Regions from separate parts of the Homo sapiens genome. Here region 1 is linked to region 2. Evidence: promoter capture Hi-C in 16 types of primary human blood cells and fetal thymus (Javierre and others, 2016). All regions are on one chromosome and are shown on one strand. The core of a region is centred on a gene start or on the middle of the fragment in contact, and the rest is flanking DNA. Distances in the headings are between cores, read along the strand shown.

Region 1 (5,186 bases), core at 1,924-4,423, 630 kb before region 2:
AGGTTGGGGGACTCTTACAGCAGAAGGTTTGTTTTTTGTTTTCCTGAGTGTAATTTGGAAAGACTGCACAGTCCTGCTTAGAGAAGCCTGAGTTAAGTAGTTAAGTATAGTGTCTTGTCAAACATGGCTCCCTAAAGGGACAATAAAAATTGTTGAGAGGTACCTGGGGGAGTAAAACTGACCCCATGTGCTTGGGTTCTTTGGCTAGTTTTTCAGGTGGTGTGAAGGGCATAAAGTTCCCAGCTGTCTAGTCACTCAACTGAACTTGCCAATTAAATTCAGGTTTCTGGCTTAAAACAGTCATTTTGCAATTAACTAAATCACCTTTGGATTCTTTTCCCATTCCCCATCTTCTCACTTCCTTTAAGGGAAGTCCATGAGAGGATGGGAAAAGTTGCTTATAGAGTTCTGTGTTGTTCTCTGGTCATCTCTGCAAACACTTACAAAAATGTTTGTATCTAAGGTCCATGATTTTGGCTTGACTGATGTTCACCTGCTGGTTCTTATTTGCTAACGTGGCCATTACCTTGCATATCCTTGGAGCCAGTGGTCCTTGAAACCTGGCTGAAATTCTGCTTAGATCATTAGCTTAGGTGGTCCTTTCAGCTGTTCTCTTTGCCATTCGTCCCTTACCTAGTGACTCCTGCCCCCACGCAGCCTTGTCAGCCAGCATACTCTGCTTTCCCTTATGTTATTACCCACCCTCTCCTGGCTGTAGCAAGAAGTGGGCTGAAGAGGACAATATAAAGTAATTGCAAACAGAAAACAAAAAACAACAAAAACTATTGTAGCAAGCAGGGGGCGGGGTGGGGGGAAGAATTATTTCTGTGTCTGTTTTGGCAAGGCCCCAAGACTAAGTCCTATGCTCCAATGCTCCAAAGAAAGACGCAGGACCCCAAAGCAGGACTAACATGGTCAAGAACAAGACTGTGTGGCTCTTTGCTGATAGCCCACCACCAGCCTATAAAAGAGGTTGGAGAAACTAAGGTGAGACATTTTAGTGGAGGCCTTTCAAAGAGTGCTGTCAGTATACTGAGTACACTGTAAATGCTCTCCCCTCCAAGGGCTAGGGCACCAGATGTTTTTCTGTCTAATTAAGACTCAGGAGAGAGGTTTCAGTGGGACCACTTGAAGAGGTTTACCTGTGTCTCCTGGAACTTGGAGGCACCGTGGCTTGGTGTCTGACACCCTGAGAAATCTAAAAGATGAGAGGCTATTTGGCTGCTGCTCTGGCCTCAGAGTGAAGAGATGGGACTGCATGGGGTGGCCTGTTCTTCCAAATATTGTCAGGACAAAGCATACATGACAACCTCCTATGGACCAGAAGTGGGTCAGAAGTGTCCACCTGCCCACCTCAAGGAAACTGCAGGAGAAAGATCCTTCTCAATGGAATGGATATGGGTAACAAAAATCCCATAAAAACACAACACAAGGAAAAAAATCAGCATTAAACATCAACAAAGTTCAGAGAGGACCAAAAGTAGGCAGCACATCAGGATTTTTCTCCCTCTCACCTACTCTCCCACCCTGTTCTCTTTGCCTTAACTTTGGAGAAACCAGAGGCAGCACGGTGACTCGGGAGACATAGAAGTTCCAAGCAGAGAAACGAAGAGGAAATCAATCACCCCATTCCCATTGCAGGTGACTGGCCTGAACCTGGCCTAAGCTGGGGGCAGGGAGAAGCTTTAAATGAAGTAGAAAGCTTTGATGATTTTACTTGACTGAGAAAATTATGGAATTGAGAGGGTTTGGATGAACTAGTGGTGATGGGTAAATTTCTTACCTTGAAAAGAGTCATATGCCCAGCCAGGGCAGTAGGAGTACTACCTCTTCACATCAAGTTGGAAGAGACAGGGGAATAAAAAATTCATTTATTTTCAGATGTATCATTTAGTTCTGATTATTAAATATAATGGTTACTACATTCCTTTGAATACCTCAGTAGACTTGTTTAAATTCTAATCCTGCCACAGTTGCTCACCTATTTAACTACGCATTTCTTCTCTCTTCCACCCCCTCCACCAAAGTTTCATAATGGTCTTAGCTTATGTGGTCTTTGAAGCTGCCCTCTTGGCTCTAACCAATGCTCGTTGAATCTGTTTCTCTCCGAGTCCCATTTTCCTCATGTGCTGCAGAACCTCATTGAGCCAGGTGATAGCACAGGTATTTTCTAGCTCTCTTGTGTGATCCTACATATGTTTTGAATTTCAAATTTGTTTCATTTTCTTCCTCTCCACAGCTCTTCACAATTTTATGGGGCTGTGGCCAAGGAGCTGAGCAAATGTGAGCAAGTCTTTCAGTAGTGTAAGTTATTTGCTTTATACTCAGTTCCTCAGAGAGAGCTGTTCAAGAGGCTTTCTTTCACTTCATCTTGGAATAGAAAGGACCTCCTACATTGTGGTGCAAATTAAACTGTAGAGATAGTACAGTTCTTTGTAATTTCTAACAGTGAAGAAGCTGAGCTTTGGAACAGGACAATTTAAAAATAAAAACTAAATGATTCTGTTTAAAAATACTTATTGATCATCTTATTTCATCATTTAATTTCCCAGATTCTATTCTACACAGTGCCTGGCACATAGTAAGTCGCCAATGTTTATTTATTAAATGAGTGAGTGGTATACTGTAATATAGTGAAAATAATCTATTACATATCCAGGAGGTTAAACTTGGAGATTCACTAGAACATCATATTTTCTATTAGCTACAAAACGAGTGTAGATTACAAATTCAGAAGAGCTCTTCTAAACGCATCTTCACTACTAATTAACGGTGGATGCATTTTGGTCATGTAATACAATGTATTGAGTTTCTACATGCCAGATAATCTTTTAAGTGTTTTATGTCCATTATCTCATTTATTCCTCACAGAAGTCTTATAAGGTCATCTCTACCTTGGTGATAAGAAAATTGAGCCAGAGAGAAGTTAAGAGACTTACTTAAGACTATATGGAACCAGGATTTTAATGGGGTTCAAGAGCCTGTTTTCGAACCCCATAATTCCTTCCTTGAAATATGTCAAGGTTTTCTGACTTTTAATATACTATCTAGGAACTCTGTGTAAAATAGTTTCCCCATGCCTTTAGTACTACTATACTATTCTTCCACCTCTCTATTTAGTCAGTATTTATTATCAACTGTTATTGGCAACGTACAGTCAGGAGCTGGGTTTGGGTGCCTACCCTCATGAACCTTCAGTTTGATGGGTGAAATGCACAATTAATAAACAATAACAATAAAATATTATGAGGAAATATAGGGTCCCATAAGAAGGATACCCAACCCAGAGAAAGAGGCCATGGGAGGCTACTGAGGGAAGTGGCTCCTCATTCTTAGCACATTGCTCATATCTAGAATGAGGCGACTACAAAGCCAGAGAAATAAAATTGGCTGTGTCCTCAGCTTCTGCAAAGTGCCAGGAACTCAATAAATGCTTGTTAAATTACTGGTGTTAGACTATGTGAATTAAAAAAAAAATAGAGGTACCATGGATACTACTTAGTTCTTCCAATCTACACTTTTTCTAAAGAGCAGGTTACCTTCAGACTATGAGAAAAAGAGTCAAATTTTCCAAATGGTCCCCTAATTCTGATCAGTTCTAAAGCACCATAGCTCATTCTTCTTACCCCAGTGACCTGAACAAGATTTGACAATTCTAGCCATAAAATCTTACACTGGGCTCGGGCTCACAGAACTGAATTAATAAAATACATTGTTTGTCTTTATATTAAATCAAATTATGAAGGTACATTTTTGATCATTTGCAAATGTCACTTCTAATTAGCTCAAGGATCCTGATATAGACAAACCATACTCAAAGTCAATAAGTTAGGTTTGTTTTTGTGTATACCTTAAGGGCTAATGTCAGTATTTTGACTATTAGGCTCATGTGAACTTTTGAAAAGAGAGTTAAGGAAAACAATAATGTTTTAAATAGTGGCTTTGGATATTTTAAGCTAAAATTGATTAATACTGCAATGTTTAATTCATTTTTAAAAGATTTATGAGAAAACCCACAGTATTTTAAGTAATTTAGTCTCATTCTAAAACGCACCTTGCCAAGGCAAAAGCATCATCAATAAGACTTGCACGATCTGCTGAAGAAAATGTCTGGGAAGAGGGAGAAAGAGAGATAAAAACACAATTCTTAAGGCAAAGCATGTTGAAAAAAATTAATATCATTAAGATGCTGTTCTTAGAACAAAAATAAAAGTTTCCAACCATTGCTATCTCTTACCTTGTGGTTCAAGGAGAGCGCTGTAGCTATCGAGTCCCAAGTTGCTACTTCATAATTTACACGATAAAACCCAATATGATCTGGGTTTATTTTGAGAAAAGCATTTCCACTAGGATTAGAGGAGTTCAAAGTGATTCCTGTAGTAGTAAATAAACACTAATGAGCAACATGTTTGCATGCACTGTCAACACAGAGAAATTAGACCCAGAGGGCAAAAAGAAAATAAAAGAAAAGAAATATTAGCTCAAGGAGGCAGGTTTGATTTGGATCCAAAACCCAAAGCCTAATTTTTACTTAGTTGTCTAACTTTAGAATACCACTATAATGAGTGAGCTAAAAAAGAAATAAGTAATATAAATAATTATACTGTAATTTATGATGGATAGTTTTTACTGGCAGAAGCTTGTCAAATGGGCGAAATAATTTCGTGCTGGTCAATCCATCAATAAAAGAAAACAGTGCCTCGAGACAGAGAAGTCCATGCCTTCAGGGGTAGTCCATAGATCCCTAATCATAATGGATTGATTACACAAACAATATTCACCAGGGCAGCCTGGGGAGGGGATACAAATGTAAATACTCAAAATAATACTTTGTTTATTAAAATCAACATTGAAGTTGATGGAAATGGCTATCACTAAGCAGGATAATACATTGATAATCAGCAACACTTTTAAAATGTTACTGTATCAAGAAGACCTGCAATAGAATTGAGATCTGAATGAAACGTTCTTGATTTTGTAATCGACTTCACACTTGTTCTTCCAATTTATTTATCTTTGTAAAGCCGTCTACTTCCTATTTCAGTTGGTTACAACAATACTTTTCCATCAATGGATTTATCAAATTAGCATTCTTTCTAAAACAACATCCATATATATGTGAGGCTCTATTGTATAGATTTTAGAAGCCCAAGGCTGAAGGAGCAGAGACTTATGTTTTAGGTAAA
Region 2 (5,360 bases), core at 1,746-4,245:
TAATTGTGTTGCTATCACTTGGTTTATCCGGCTAGCAGTCACATGAGTAACAATCTTGCATAAGTTTACCTGAATACTGTTAGACCATAAAGCATTCTTCCTGCTGGGTCAGGTGGCTGCAGAGGTGATCTGTCTCAATGCCAAGGGCAAGAAATAAGGCAAGTAGAATTTAAATGAGGGAAAAATAGATGATGGCACCATATCTATTTAGAGAGGAGAAAGAAATACTATCCTCTGAAATGCACACAGTGACTGACAAAGGGTGACCCAGGCAGTTATCAGCTAACATGAGACCAGGAGCGTAAAGTACGGGATTTAAACCAGTGACTTGCAAGAAATGAGGTAGCAGAGAGGCAGGGAATCCCAAAGTGCCATCCACACATTCCACACTCCATGGATCTGTGCCGTGTCACTGCACTGTTCAAATACGGCATCTCATCGTATGACTTGATCAGAGATTTAGCCAAGACGTGGAGCCCAGGAGGACATTTATTGAGCATACTCTGCTAAGCACCATGCTTTGGTACATGCTAGGTTATCTCATGTGATTCCCCACAAAAAAATCCTAAAAGCAGTGGGCGAGGGTATTATTTCCCAGAGATACTCTAAAGTAACTCAGCTATTAAGTTGGTAGCATGGATATGAAATGAGGCTTGTTTGTTTCTAAAACCTGTGGTTCCTTCCACTCTGTGACACAGTCTCCCCAACTTATTGTTTCTATCCTGGGTTTCATGTTTATTGGGTACAACCTACCTCAATGAAGGCACTTCTGAGCCACCAGAGGTGGCAAGGAAAACAAGGCATAGACTTGCTTGCCAGCAGGAATCAGACTATTCTGAGATCCTAGAGCCATCCATAAAAGCTCATTTTTGTAATTTCTTGGGTTCTGCTTCAGCAACCTGGGTTCTTCTTTCCTAGCTTCTGGCTGCCTGATAGATCGGCCCAACCATCACCCCTCACATCCCATGCAAATGACAGTGCCCAACTCTAGATATTTGCCAACTACTCCACGGAAAATTCTCCCACCCCAAAGAGAGTCCAGTCCATTTGACATAACTGTATACAGAAGTTTTACTTCTGTCTCCAACAGCTGAGTCTGAGGTTCATGGGGCCATTTTTGTCATTTGTCACCCTCTTTTTGTTGCTGTTCTCTAGGACTATGTCATTAGCAGATCAGAGAAAGACGCCTCATTCATACACAAGAATTTGCTGAGTACACACTGTGGAAGCAGGAATGTCCTAGGTGCTGGGAACATAGAGATCACTAGGATTAAGTCTTTATTTCAAATACCCTAGAGTTCTGCTCACCTGTTACAAGGAGTGCTACCTGAGAACAGAGTCCAGAGATTCTGAGCAAAAGCACCTGATTTCCTCATCGGGAACTTCCTTAATGGGAGAGCCAGGACAGCAGCCTAGCTTTGGCAGTTTGGCTCCATTCTGCTCTCTTTATTCAAACTATTGCCTATTGTGTACTGTCTTCCATAGGTGTCTCTTCTGGAAACTGTACTGTGTTTTCCCCCTCAATCTACCTCTTTTTAAAAGCCAGACGCCATCTCAAAAGGGCAAGCTGATAAAAATGGAATGTCGGGGCAGCTATAACCTCTCATCAACAAAGGCGGCTGCCGTGTCTAAGCAGCAGGTTGGAGGCTCACCCAAGGATTAAATAAATGAATTAACAGTTAGAGAGAGAATGTTTTTCAGGCAATATCCTTTGGCAGGATTGTAATTCGCATTCAGTCAAGCTCCCATTTCCCCTTGGCAAAAAATTCATTTAATATGAGAGGACAGTGTGGCTTATTTACCCATTATCATATTTGGCAGTTCTTAAAGTTGCAATGCACCTGTTACTAAAACTCCGGAGTTGTGTCAGAGCCTCAGAAACAGTAAGAGTGGGGAGAAAGTGAAGGAGGTTGAAATTGAAATTTAGGTTAATTTTCACAACTACCTTTGTTCACAGTTCCCTTTCCATTTTTCACTAATTTTTAGAACTTCTGAATTCTTACAAGTTATCAGAAGGAAGGATTTTTTTCTTTGTGGCTTAAGAGTTTCAAACAGACAAACAAAAAATCAACCATCTGTTTCCCTAATTTCCAAGCAATTAGCCAGGTGTTAATTACTCCTCTTGTCAGAGTAAAAGCTGAAGCTTCCATGAAATGTTCTGCTAGTTTAAAATGAGGCATATTCATTCACTTATACACAGAAGTACAGTTTGAGAGTTATGAAGTTTTATAGTTGGTAGCAGATTAGCTCTAATGGCCAGTAAGAAAATAAACATGCATCAGAAAACAAAAATTAAGCAACTATACATACCCAAAGACAAACTTTGTTAAATGCCCAAGTATACCAGATTGAACCAACAGGGATGTGGGGGCAGTTTCCCGGAGACCTGGAGCACCTTTTCATTGGAGTACTTACCCACACAAGTAGAATTCCCATTTCCTGCGAGAGTACCTTCAGGACAGCTCCAGTGCTGCGGTGCTGAGAGACTAACAAAACTAAATTTTGAAACTACTGGCAACAGAATGATAAGAGTGAGCAGCATAATCTTGATGAGTTTGAACTTTCAAAAGAAAACAGCTTGATTTTGCTGGAGCATGGCCCGGGCAAGGTGAGTATGATTGACCCCAGATGCGGCTGCCTGAGCGGAGGCCTCAGCCCTGGGGCATCTTTTACTCTCCTGTTGTGCTGTTGTCCTCCAAGCTCTTTCTTCAACTGAGAGACCTTCTGAATGCAGCCTGCCAAGGGAAGCCACAGGAAAGATTTCTTTATCTATGTTTCTTTGGAAGCCAGTAAGAAATACCTGACACCCTTATGACAAATTTCACAGAGTTTAACAGCCCTGCTCTGGCTGACTTCACTGTGACAGAGCAAGGCAAAGGCTTAGAGAGGAAAAAGAAAGGAAGAACTGATGGAAAGTTCCAGCTACAACCCTTGGATTGGGGCTGAAAGAAGAAATATGGAGATACGATTCCTCTCCCAACAGTTTCTCTTTTTGAAAAGTGGAATGACTCAGCTTTGCTTTTTAAAGCTCTTCAGGCTCCACCTCCTTTCCTTTAGTGACACTTGAGTGAGCCTCTGTTTGCAAATGCGAATGTGGGCAATTCCTCCACACAGGAAAGCAGGGATGACTGCCAAAGAGGAGATAACTCGCTACTCACCATAAATATCCTGGGCAGAACTGGGAGAGAGGAGTTGGGGGCTGTGGAGGTGCTCATGGTGAATGGCGGGAACTGCTAAATATTGGCTATGTTTTAATGTCTGGAAGGATGGAGACAAAATTAAACCATGCAGTATAAATCAATAATAAGCAGCACTGTTGATAGTTTGGATTGATAATAATTGATCATTCACATGAGCAATAGTAAAGATAGTTCACCTTCAGCCCATTATTTGAACGAAATGTCAATACCAGTGCACATTCCAGGAGCTTTATCTTATTTTTCTCTTTCTCCTGTATAGTTTATAGCGGAATTTGAAAGATTATTCTTTCCAAATCAAAGGGAAATCCCTGAGGCCAAATGAAGAGATACAGTATGGACAGACACCTTTTCTTTCAGCATGAGCATGATAAAACATCACGAGGGGCCAGGAGTGCAGAGAAAGGAGTGGATTGTTATTATAGGGACATTGGAAAAAATAAGCTAACAGTGCAAAGCTGGGAAGCACTGGAAATCCAGCACAGAGGAATGCTTTTCCTTCTAAGATAATTTAGGCTTTTTTTTTTTCACATCTCTGTGATAGAAAATAAGAACTGGACGTATCTGTTAGCTGTCTCCTCAACCACTTTCTACTTGGAGCAACAGTGGTTATTTCTTCAGGAGTACAACTAGGGCCCAAAAATACCCAGAAGGCAAACAACTTATAGCAGATTTGATGCACGATGGAAATTTCTGTCAGTTTACTCCATCCTGGAAAATGGACTTTCATTTAAGTTACCCTGAGGTAGTGTTCCAAGTGCTGGTCAAAAATGTACGTAAAAGCAATAGTCACAAAAACAACTGTCACACTAGTGAACACCCCATTACAGAGGAGAACAGACTAACTCTAAGCCTTTTACTCATACTTAATTATGTCCTGATTATTCTCCAAAGACTGGATCACTTTCCTGAAACAGCTTAAGTCAGGATTTCTCCTATTTCAGCCAGCCTCTGCCAGGCAGCTCTGAACCCTTACAGGAGAAACAGACCCTGGGGAAGGGGGAAAGAGAAGTCCTTTAGGTGGTTATGCGGAATATTCCATTGCTTTCTGGACTGAGTCAGACTCAAGACTCATAATGAGCATCCTACAAATAACCTGCACTGACTCTTCGAGTTACTAACTTTATTAATAAGCTTCCCTTTCAGCACAATACATTGCCAGCATCCCAGATGACAGCAATGGAAGGGGCTTAGAGGACAATCAAGCATCACGCTGTGTCAGTGGAGTGGAGTGGAGAGAATGATATGAAGACAAACATGAAATGATCCACAGCTCTGTTCTGTTTGGATTTGGAATCTCTCATATTATTTTTGGTTGGAAAAAGGTTTGCTTTCTTAATTACATGTCACCTGGGCTAATGTTGTCATTAATGTTGAGTACAAGCTCCCTAGGAGATGACGGAGTCAACAGAGGTATAGCAGATGCTATGGCTGATGACTGATGATGAAAATCAATCGCAGCTAATTCATCATCTACAGTTGCCCAGATAGCAAAATCATAGGACAGAGCTACCCAACTGGGAAGGATTTACAGAGATATTTAATAAGTTTATATTCCAGCCGGGCGTGGTGGCTCATGCCTGTAATCCCAGCACTTTGGGAGGCCAAGGTGGGCAGATCACACTTCAGGAGATCTAGACCATCCTGGCTAACACGGTGAAACCCCATCTCTACTAAAAATACAAAAAGTTAGCCAGGCGTGGTGGCACATGCCTATAGTCCCAGCTACTCATGAGGCTGAGGCAGGAGAATTGCTTGAACCCAGGAGGCGGAGGTTGCAGTGAGCCGATAACACGCCACTGCACTCCAGCCTGGGTGACAGAGCAAGACTCTATCTCAAAAAAATAAATAAATAAATAAATAATAAGTTTATGTTCCTACTTCTGGATAAAACTGAACCTTTCTTGCACTCAAGAAAGGTTGAAATAAACTCTTTATTTTAAAATTGATAAGAAATGCACTATAACTTATAGGTTTGAGCTGCCAAATATGATTTAATTTCTGGAATTGAGTTAAAGTTAACTAATTCATTCGTTAATTAAACAGCTATATATGATAGAGCACTGCCTGGAGTACAAGAAACAGAAGTCGTAGTCCTTAACATCAAGAGCTTGCTGAGGTTGATTAACAGCAACAACAGAGAGTATGAGTATGAGCTAATGA

What was found. The method cuts DNA at HindIII sites, captures the fragments that hold promoters and counts their contacts. A CHiCAGO score of 5 or more calls a contact.
Region 1: a contact is called between a fragment that was not itself captured here and the fragment with the promoter of EGF in region 2, in 1 of 17 cell types (total CD4 T cells). The highest score is 5.1, in total CD4 T cells.

Annotation. Positions count from the first base shown.
Region 1 is chr4:110,541,939-110,547,124 of GRCh38, reverse strand. It overlaps ENPEP (glutamyl aminopeptidase), which reads right to left. Exons shown (of 20, transcript NM_001977.4): 12 at 4,238-4,374; 13 at 4,055-4,110. Among named protein-coding and RNA genes, the nearest start is that of ENPEP, 68 kb to the right of the region's middle. The HindIII fragment of the contact is 2,937 bases long and covers 1,705-4,641 here.
Region 2 is chr4:109,910,518-109,915,877 of GRCh38, reverse strand. It overlaps EGF (epidermal growth factor), which reads right to left and starts at 2,995. Exons shown (of 24, transcript NM_001963.6): 1 at 2,416-2,995. The coding sequence starts at 2,542. The HindIII fragment of the contact is 2,188 bases long and covers 2,146-4,333 here.